Regions from separate parts of the Homo sapiens genome. Here region 2 is linked to region 1. Evidence: promoter capture Hi-C in human tissues and cell types (Jung and others, 2019). All regions are on one chromosome and are shown on one strand. Each heading gives the region's core, a stretch centred on a gene start or on the middle of the fragment in contact. The rest is flanking DNA. Distances are from core to core; before and after follow the strand shown. Region 1 holds the start of SPATA21 (spermatogenesis associated 21). Region 2 has its middle 6.2 kb from the start of TRN-GTT4-1.

Region 1 (5,052 bases), core at 1,057-3,556:
GTGTTTTGGGATTACAGGTGTGAGCCACTGTACCGCCTTACTTGTCTTTTTTATCATAGCTATCCTAGTGGATGTGAGTGTAAAGTGTTATCTCATTCTGATTTTGATTTGCATTTCCCCAATGGCCGATAATGTTGGACATCTTCATGTGCTTATTGGCCATTTGTCTATCTTCTTTGGAAAAATGTTTATTCAGAGCCTTCGTCCTTTTTTTTTTGAGATGGAGTCTCGCTCTGTCACCCAGGGTGGAGTGCAGTGGCCTAGTTCCAGCTCACTGCAACCTCCGTCTCCCGTGTCCATGCAATTCTCCTGCTTCAGCCTCCCTAGTAGCTGGGATTACAGGTGTGTGCCACCACACCAGACTAATTTTTGTATTTTTAGTAGAGACGCGGTTTTGCCATCTTGACCAGGCTGGTCTCAAACCCCTGACCTCAGGTGATCTGCCCACCTCAGCCTTCCAAAGTACTGGGATTACAGGTGTGAGCCACCATGCCCGGCCCCCCCCTTTTTTTTTTTTCAGACAGGGTCTTACTCTGTCCACAGGCTGGACTGCAGTGGCATGAACGTGGCTCACTATAGCCTTGACCTCTTGGGCTCAGGTGATCCTCCCATTTCAGCCTCCCAAAATGCTGGGATTACATGCATGAGTCACAGCACCCAGCCTGCCTCTGTCCATTTATACTGGGTTGTCTTTTTATTATTGCACGGTAAATGTTCTTTATAAATTCTAGATACATGTCCTGAATCATATATATGATCTGCAAAAATTTTCTCCCATTATGTGGATTACATTTTCACCTTTTTGTCTTTTGAAGCACAGAAGTTTTAAATTTTTGTAAAAGTCCCATTTATCGGCCTGGTGCGGTGGCTCACACCTGTAATCCCAGCACTCTGGGAGGCTGAGGCGGGCGGATCATGAGGTCAGGAGTTTGAGACCAGCCTGGCCAGCAAGGTGAAACCCCATCTCTACTAAAGATACAAAAAATTAGCTGAGTGTGGTGGTGCGTGCCTGTAATCCCAGCACTTTGGGAGGCCGAGGCGGGCAGATCACCTGAGGTTGGGAGTTTGAGACCAGCCTGACCAACATGGAGAAACCCCGTCTCTACTAAAAGTACAGAATTAGCCGGGCATGGTGGCACATGCCTGTAATCCCAGCTAGTCAGGAGGCTGAGGCAGGAGAATTGCTTGAACCTGGCAGGTGGAGGGTTGCAGTGAGCCGAGATCGCACCATTGCACTCCAGCCTAGATGACAGGGTGAGACTCTGTCTCAAAAAAAAAAAAAAAAAATACAGATAGGGTGCAGTGTATACTGCTCAGGTGATGGGTGGACCAAAATCTTACAAATCACCACTAAAGAACCTACTCATGCAGGGCAAGGTGGCTCACGCCTGTAATCCCAGAACTTTGGGATGCCAAGGGGGGCAGATCACTCGAGGTCAGGAGTTTGAGATCACCCTGGCTAACATGGTGAAATCCTGTTTCTACTAAAAATACAAAAATTAGCTGGGCATGGTGGTGCCTGCCTGTAATCCTAGGTACTTGGGAGGCTGAGGCAGGAGAATCGCTTGAACCTGGGAGATGGAGGTTGCAGTGAGCAGAGACTGCACCACTACACGCCAGCCTGGGCAACAGAGCAAGACTCCGTCTCAAAAAAAATTACTAATGTAAACAAAAAAAAAACACCAAAAAACAAAAACCTTAGTCATGTAGCCAAATACCACCTGTACCCCAATAACCTATGGAAAAACAAATAAATAAATAAATAAATAAAAAGTTTTGAAATCAGGAAGTGTGAGTCCTCCAACTTTGTTCTTTTTCAAAATTCTTTGGGTATTGAGTGCCCCTTTTATAAGTGGTTTCCTCATCTGAAAAATGGGAGAATTTCTCTTGGAAATATCTATGATGGCAGGAAAATACAGCAGATAAAGATAAGTGGCATATCATATATATGTCTGGAGGCCGTCAGGGAAAGCTTGTTCACCTTACACCCCACCTTGGCCCTGCACCTACCAGAAATCAGCTGGATGAGTCACAGTGAGATTTTCCACCCCTGCTCACCGCCTTGCACATAGGATGGGCTCTGTCTGAGCCTATACTTTGCCTGTTGGCTTGAATTGGATTTGTTTGGTATACAGGGCAGTTAAACTGGGAATAGATGGCAGGTCCAATTATTCTCAGCAGCAGAGGTTTAGGAATGCATTTCAGGAATATCCAGCCATGTGGTTAGGGTTTGAGAATAAGGCAAGGGGCTGTGTGACCTCCAACTACTGGACAGTGTCATTTCCCCCAGCTTGTCACTGGTTCAGTGGCCCCCATTACACAATGAAGATAACAATCGTTGCCTTGCCAACCTCACAGTGATTATTGGGCCAGGGTACTCTCTCCCAGAAAGCCTTCCCTGACTCTCCCCAGACTGTGTGGGGTTTCTTCTCTTTGCTCCCACAGGCCCCTGTGAATTTGCTTCATTACAGTACCTTTCATTCTGCTTTGCCAATGACTGCTTTTCTCTCTGTCTCCTCCAGTCTGCGAGCTCCAGGATGGTAGGAGCTGGATTGGCCACATCCCAGTGACCCCAGTACTCAGCACCTGGCATAGGGTATGTGCTCGATGCCTGTCTTTGTTAGACTGAACAGAACTGAAAGTGCTCTGAATGGCTGGGTGCGGTGGCTCACACCTGTAATCCCAGCACTTTGGGAGGCCGAGGTGGGTGGATCACTTGAGGTCGAGTTATAGACCAGCCTGGCCAACATGGTGAAACCCCGTCTCTACTAAAAATACAAAAATTAGCCAGGCATGGTGGCGCATGCCTGTAATCCCAGCTACTTAGGAGGCTGAGGCACGAGAATCACTTGAACCTGGGAGGCAGAAGTTGCAGTGAGCTGAGATCATGCCACTGTCTTCCAGCCTGGGTGGTAGAGTGAGACTTAGTCTCAAAAAAAAAAAAATTGGAAAATAAGGCCAGGTATGGTGGCTCATGCCTATAATCCTAGCACTTTGGAAGGCTGAGGCAGGAGGATCTCTTGAAGACAGGAATTCAAGACCAGCCTGGGCAACATAGCAAGACCCCCGTCTCTACAAAAAGTAAGAAAAATAGCAGGGTAGGGTGGTGTGTGCCTGTAGGCCCAGCTACTCAAAAGGTTGAGGCAGGAGGATCCCTTGAGCCCGGGAATTTGAGGCTGCAGTGAGTGATGATCGCACCATTGCACTCCAGTGTGGGGTGACAGAGAGAGAAAGAAAGAGAGAGACCCTGTCTAAAAAAAAAAAAAAAAAGAAAAGAAAAAGAAAAGAAAAGAAAAGAAAAATAACCAATATTTGCAAAAATGTGAAGAAATTGAAACCCTTGTGAACGTAAATGGTGCTGCTGCTGTGGAAGACAGTTTGGAGGCTCCTCAAAAAGGTGAGCAAGGCCGGACATGGTGGTTCACACCTGTAGTCCCAGCTACTTGGGAGGCTGAGTTGGGAGGATCACTTGAGCCTGGGAGGTTGAGGCTGCAGTGAGCCATGATCATGCCAGTGCTTTCCAGCCTGGGCAACAGAGTGAGATGCTGTTTCAAACAAAACAAAACAAAACAAAACCACTAAACATAGCATTATTGTATAACTCAGCAGTTTCACTCCTATGTATACACTCAAGAAAATGGAAAACAGGACTAGAACAAGTGTTTGAACACCAATGCTCATAGTAGCCCGATTCCCAATACCAAAAGGTGATAACATCCCAATTGTTGACAGATGAATGGATAAACAAAATATGGTATATACATGCAATGGAATATTATCCCTCCATTAAAAGGAATGAAATTCTGATCCATGCTACATGAAAGAACCTTGAAAACTTGATGCTAAGTGAAATAAGAAACACAAAAGCCCAATATTGTATGATTCCACTTATAAGAGGTATCTAGAAAAGGCAAATTCATAGAGACAGAAAGTAAAACAGAGGTTACTAAGGGATGGAGCAGAAGGAAATGGGAAGTTATTGCTAATGGGTGTGGAGTTTCTGTTTGGGATGATGAAAAGTTCTGGAAAGCATGATATAGTTGCACAATATTGTGAATGTACTTAATTTCACAGCATTGTACACTTAAAATGGTAAATTTTATGTTATGTATATTTTACAATAAAAATGTAAGTGGTTAGATCAATCCTATAATAAAAAGCTTATAAAAAATGAGTAGAAATGGCCAGTCGTGGTGGCTCACGCCTGTAATCCCAGCACTTGGGAGGCCGAAGTGGGCGGATCACTTGAGGTCAGGAGTTCAAGATCAGCTTGGCCAACCAGATGAAACCCCCGTCTCTACCAAAAAAATACAAAAACTAGCCAGGCTTGGTGGTGGGTGCCTGTAATCCCAGCTACTCGGGAGGCTGAGGCAGGAGAATCGCTTGAACCCGGGAGGTGGAGGTTGCAGTGAGCCGAGATTGCACCACTGCACTCCAGCCTGGGCGGCAGAGTGAGACTTTGTCTGAAGAAAAAAAAAAAAAAAAGTAAAAAGGAGAAGGAGAGTGAGAGAGAAAAGGAAAGAAGGGGTGGGGAAAGTTTGGGGTATTCAGTGAATCAGAAGTTTGGGATCAGCTTCACCCCCACATAGGGGCTGGCACATTGCAGGCACTCAACTCAATGAGAGAATGGTAGGGAAGGAGGGATTTTGAGAATTTGGCTAGGGTAGACATTGTATCTCCCAGAATATTCTGGGAGAAATCGAAGTTAAGACTGGAATTCTTCTTCTTCTTTTTTTTTTTTTTTGAGACAGAGTCCCGCTCTGTCACCCAGGCTGAGGTGCAGTGGCACAATTTCAGCTCACTGCAACTTCCGCATTCCGGGTTCAAGCGATTCTAGTGCCTCAGTCTCCCAACTAGCTAGGACTACAGACACACGCCACCAAGCCCGGCTAATTTTTGTATTTTTAGTAGAGACGGGGTTTCACCATGTTGGCCAGGCTGGTCTCGAACTCCTGACCTCAGGTGATCCGCCCGCCTCAGCCTCCCAAAGTGCTGGGATTACAGGCGTGAGCTACCAAGCCCGGCCTGGAATTCTTCTTAAATTACTTGTGT
Region 2 (4,857 bases), core at 2,339-4,838, 450 kb after region 1:
GCCTGTAGTCCCAGCTACTCAGGACGCTAAGGCAGGAGAATGGTGTAAACCCGGGAGGGCGGAGCTTGCAGTAAGCCAAGGTCACGCCAATGCACTCCAACCTGGGCAACAGAGCAAGACTCCATCTCAAAAAAAGAAAAAAAAAAACTGATCACAAAGAATTGTATATTTCTCACTGCGTCTTGTGGTCAGAAAAGTTTGAGAAACTACTCTACATAGGCAAATTACAGGTCCAATCTCTCCATCTACCTCTTTATCTCTTCTCTATTTCCACGCTATGCAGACAAGACCACGGAGAGAGGAAGGCAAATTCCATCAATGGGTGCTGTTAAGCCTTTTCTATGAGGTAGCTGCACATTTGGGGCACTTCAATACTGGTTACTTGAGATTCTAGTAGACAGATTGTCCTTTTCATCTCTAGCCACATGGTAAAATTACTTGGGAGCTTTTTAAGACTACTAGTGGCTTCCACCCACCTGGAAGCATTTAAATCAGAATCTCTATGTGTAGAGTCCAGGCACTTGTGTTAGTTAAAACCTCACCAGGCTTTATAATATGACAGAGTGGTTTAAAGCTACGGAGTAGACCCACCCTATTTCCTACCTTTCTCTTTGTTTCTCTTTCACCATAGGCTTCTTTCCCATGAGAAAGTAAAGATTTTAGTCTCTGTTTTCAGAGTCTCAAGTAAATCACTCTCTTTCTCAACTGGACTTCCAAGGCAAAGATTTCTTTCTATTTATCTATCTGCATTTTTACAAAGTTGGCCTCTGGATTCCCTTTTCCCAAACCTAATTCACCACAAAGGTGCCCCTCAAGTCAAGGAGCTGGGCTTTCATACACCTGCACCTGTCAATCATGGTAAATATTTTGCAGGCAGGGTTGCTGGGTGCTGTGGGATTGACGTAAACTCCCAGGTATTGCCAGCTCTGAGCCTCAGGCAAGCTTGTGACTAAATGACTCCAGTAGTCTGAGGATAGTCCTTACTCAGAAGGGTCTTTGGAAGCAAAAGCAAACATAGGCATGAGAGGGTAAAAAAAAAAAAAAAAAAAAAAAAAAAAATCTCATGTCATCTTGGCTTATACCTAACAGAACTTGTGCAAGAATGGATATTAAGGTGGGTATTGTACAGAGCAGAACTTAATAAATACCAAGTCTGGAGTTTAAGGGATAGGCTGAAGAGATTTTGCAGGCTTGTAAACATTTTTGCCAACTTGAACACACTTTTGTTTGGGTTTGGTTTTTCTCCTCATTGGTAAGAGCTACGCACAATAGGGTAGCTAAGATATTATAATTTGAATCGATACATTTGTATTTTGCCAAGGATCAAGATGAACTATGATGATTTCCATTTTTTAGTACTTTATTTTCATCAGTTTGAAAATTAGGACTTTTGCTCCTTTTTTGGCTTGTGGCACCTTTTTGGTTTTCACACTTTCTCAAAGACCAGTAACTTAGAATCTAAATTATGATTGCTTATTCTTTCAGTACTCTAGGGGAAAGTTGATTTAATCTTGACAAAATGTATTCAGTTAAAATAATTGTTCTCTTAAATCTTTCTTTCTTTCTTTCTTTCTTTTTTCTTTTTTTGGAGATGGAGTCTTGCTCTGTCACCCAGGCTAGTGTGCAGTGGCACAATCTTGGCTCACTGCAACCTCCGCCTCCTGGGTTCAAATGACTCTCCTGCCTCGGCCTCCCGAGTAGCTGGGCCTATAGGCGCATGCCATCACGCCCGGCTAATTTTTGTATTTTTAGTAGAGATGGGGTTTCACCATGTTGTTCTCTTAAATCTTTTCACCTTTTAAGTTTGTCCTTCCTTTCTCCAATTTGCAATAGGGGAGTGTGGCTCGCAGCTAAATAGTAGACTTCTCAGAGCTACTTATTCCTGGAGCCTGGCAGTCTGCAGGCCTGGAGGGGGAGCATCTAGAAAGCAGCCCTCTCTAAGTTGAGAATAACTATGAGAATTGTGGGTTATAAGGCTTTGAGCAGCTCTGGCCTCCCCGTCCTCTTTTGTTTCTACTGTGGGATGTGACAAGAGAAGGAACTCATCTGAGAGAGACTTCATATTGTGGCCTTTCACCGATTACTTCTGGAAATTTGATTCAGGCAAGCCAGGGAGAGTGTCTGGTATTCTTCTCTGAGAAGAAGAATTCATTATACAGCTGGACAATGGAATCTATGATCTGCCTGTAGAGGTTAGAGGTGCATCCTGTTCCGGGAAATAATTACAATTTAGGCAAGTTATACATGTTTGCTTAAGAGAATGCTTTCTGCACATTTCATGTTCTTCCTTTCTATCTTAGCCTAGGGAGAAAACCGTGGGGACTCAGGGCTGGAACTTTAGTGTGATGGGGCAGAAGCTTAATTTTCACATGATTCTCAACAAATGGCAGCATATCCCATGTATTATCATGTCCAATGGCTGCAATATGAAGGAGGCTTTTCCGAAATAGTTGCTGCTTTGGTAAAAAATTAACTAGATGGATTCAAAGTCAAATTTGAAGAAAGCTGAGCAGGCAGAAGAAACAATCAGTGAACCTGAAGATAAGGCAATGGAAATCATCCAGTTTGAGGAACAGAAATAAAAAAAGATTGAAGAAAAGTGAACAGAGCCTAAGTGACCATCAAGTGGACCACCATGTACATTGTGGAAGTTCTTTTTTGTTGTTGTTGTTTTGGGGGGTGGGAGGGGGGAAGGAGTTTCATTTTTGCTGCCCAGACTGGAATGCAATGGCGCTATCTCAGCTCACCGCAACCTCTGCCTCCTGGTTTCAAGCAATTCTCCCACCTCAGCCTCCCAAGAGGCTGAGATTGCAGGCATGCACCACCATGCCTGGCTAATTTTGTATTTTTAGTAGAGACGGCATTTCTCCATGTTGGTCACGCTGGTCTCAAACTCCTGACCTCAGGTGATCCTCCCGCCTCGGCCTCCCAAAATGCTGGGATTACAGGCATGAGCTACTGCTCCCAGCCTTGCATTGTGGAATTTCTAAAGAAGAGGGAGAGAAGGGCAATAGAGAATATTTGAAGAAATCATGGCTGAAAACTTCCCAAATTTGATGAAAGACATGAATACAAACACAGTAGCCTAACAAACTCCAAGTAAGATAAACCTAAAGAGACCTACACCAAAACGCATTATAATCAAACTTTCAAAAGTCAAAGAGAATCTTTAAATTGGTAAGAGAAAAGCAACTGGTCACATGCAAGAAATCTTTAATAAGATTATCAACAGATTTCTCATCAGAAACTTTGGAAGCTGGAAGGACAGGAAATCAAAAGCTGCCAACAACCAGGAGGGGTGGCTCATATCTATAATCCCAACACTTTGGGTGGCTGAGGCAGGCAGATCACTTGAGGTCAGGAGCTCAAGACCAGCCTGGCCAACATGACAAAACCCTGTCTCTATTAAAAATACAAAAATTAGCCAGGCGTGGTGGTGGGTGACTGTAATCCCAGCGACTTGAGAGACCAAGGTGGGAGAATCACTTGAACCTGGGAGGCGGAGGTTGCAGTAAGCCAAGATCTCGCCACTGCACTCCAGCCTGGGTGATAGGGTGAGACTCTGTATTAATAAACAAACAAACAAACAAAAGCTGCCCGTGAAAGGGAAAAGGATCAATAAATGGGTATTCCAAAAAGTCAAAAGTCACACAAATATCAAGCCAAAATAAACTGGTTTCCTGACTGGAAATCGACCCCAGGCTATGGCAGCAAAACACAGAACTTTAAGCACTGAACTGCAAGGTAGAGCAGACTTTATTGTGCATCCTGGAAGGGATCCAGAGCAGGCAGTTTGAGCTTATGAAGAATTTTAACTTTGTTTCGGGTCAAATTTTGCTCTTTAATTTAGTTAAGAGAATTTTTTTTCCCTACACAACACACATAATATTGTCAAGAGAATTTTTAAGGGTAGCCATGACACTATTATGTGTGTTTGTTTTAATTTGATCTTCCTATGAACTGTTAAAATAAGAGATCTCTAAAATCTTTTTTTTTTTTAATTCAGGTGTCTAATTTAAGGGATCCATCTTCAGGCCATTGGCAAGTAGAATTTCCAATGGTGTAATTATTGCAATAGCAATTCAACCAAATAGCCCCTTTGTGGAAAGCCCAGGATGTCATTTTCCAGGTTAACCTCCTGGGAAGGGCAAAGAAGAAGCAATCCCAAAGATTCCCCTGCAAGAAAAAAGTTCAATGCAAGGAGTAGACCACAGATGGGTAAGGATGATGTTGGCCTCCAGTAACCCAGATATTTATGGGGGCTTCCAGTCACAGACCTCTGAATCTATAATACCAGGTAGGCCCTCTTGGGATTGAGCTTTCCTAGGACTAACCAGGCAACAAGAATTGAGATGACAAAAGCCTCAAAGGGATGGGACTTCTTAAGACAAACCCCAAGAGCTTGACATGGTCAGAACAAAAAGTGTGCTGGGGTTCCCAGCCATTTTCAGACAGGCCACCTAGTATGACCTGATAGTTACTGCCTCTTTCCAGATAGTGGAAACCAAGAGAAAGCGCTCCCACTTGCTCACAAGTCAAGCTCTCAAGGACATAAAATAAGATGAGAAGGAACCTCAACCGGTACCCCCTTTTATGACAGAATAACACATAGAGACAAAGACAAAGGAACAGACAATTTCTGGGAACAAAGGGATTAAACAATAGGAATTGGTACCACAAAGTACCAAAAAGCACACCAGAGTCACTACACCCAAGACTAGTCACACAAATCCTTTTCTCCAATTAATCAAGATTTTGGAGAGGGAAAAGAAAGAAACAGTGATTTTTACTGTCCACTTGATGAGATTCCACACAGAGAAGGAGGCCAGGAGCCTGGCTGGTAAAAAAATTCTTACC

The links. Contacts are between HindIII fragments. The study calls those that stand out against the background at their distance.
Region 2: a contact is called between a fragment that was not itself captured here and the fragment with the promoter of SPATA21 in region 1, in 1 of the 25 tissues and cell types used here (dorsolateral prefrontal cortex).

The regions. Positions count from the first base shown.
Region 1 is chr1:16,435,118-16,440,169 of GRCh38, forward strand. SPATA21 (spermatogenesis associated 21) reads right to left here and starts at 2,307. Exons shown (of 13, transcript NM_198546.1): 1 at 2,011-2,307. RefSeq lists a silencer at 3,037-3,207. The HindIII fragment of the contact is 3,104 bases long and covers 1-3,066 here.
Region 2 is chr1:16,881,030-16,885,886 of GRCh38, forward strand. No RefSeq gene overlaps it. Among named protein-coding and RNA genes, the nearest start is that of TRN-GTT4-1, 6.2 kb to the right of the region's middle. The HindIII fragment of the contact is 3,878 bases long and covers 1,650-4,857 here.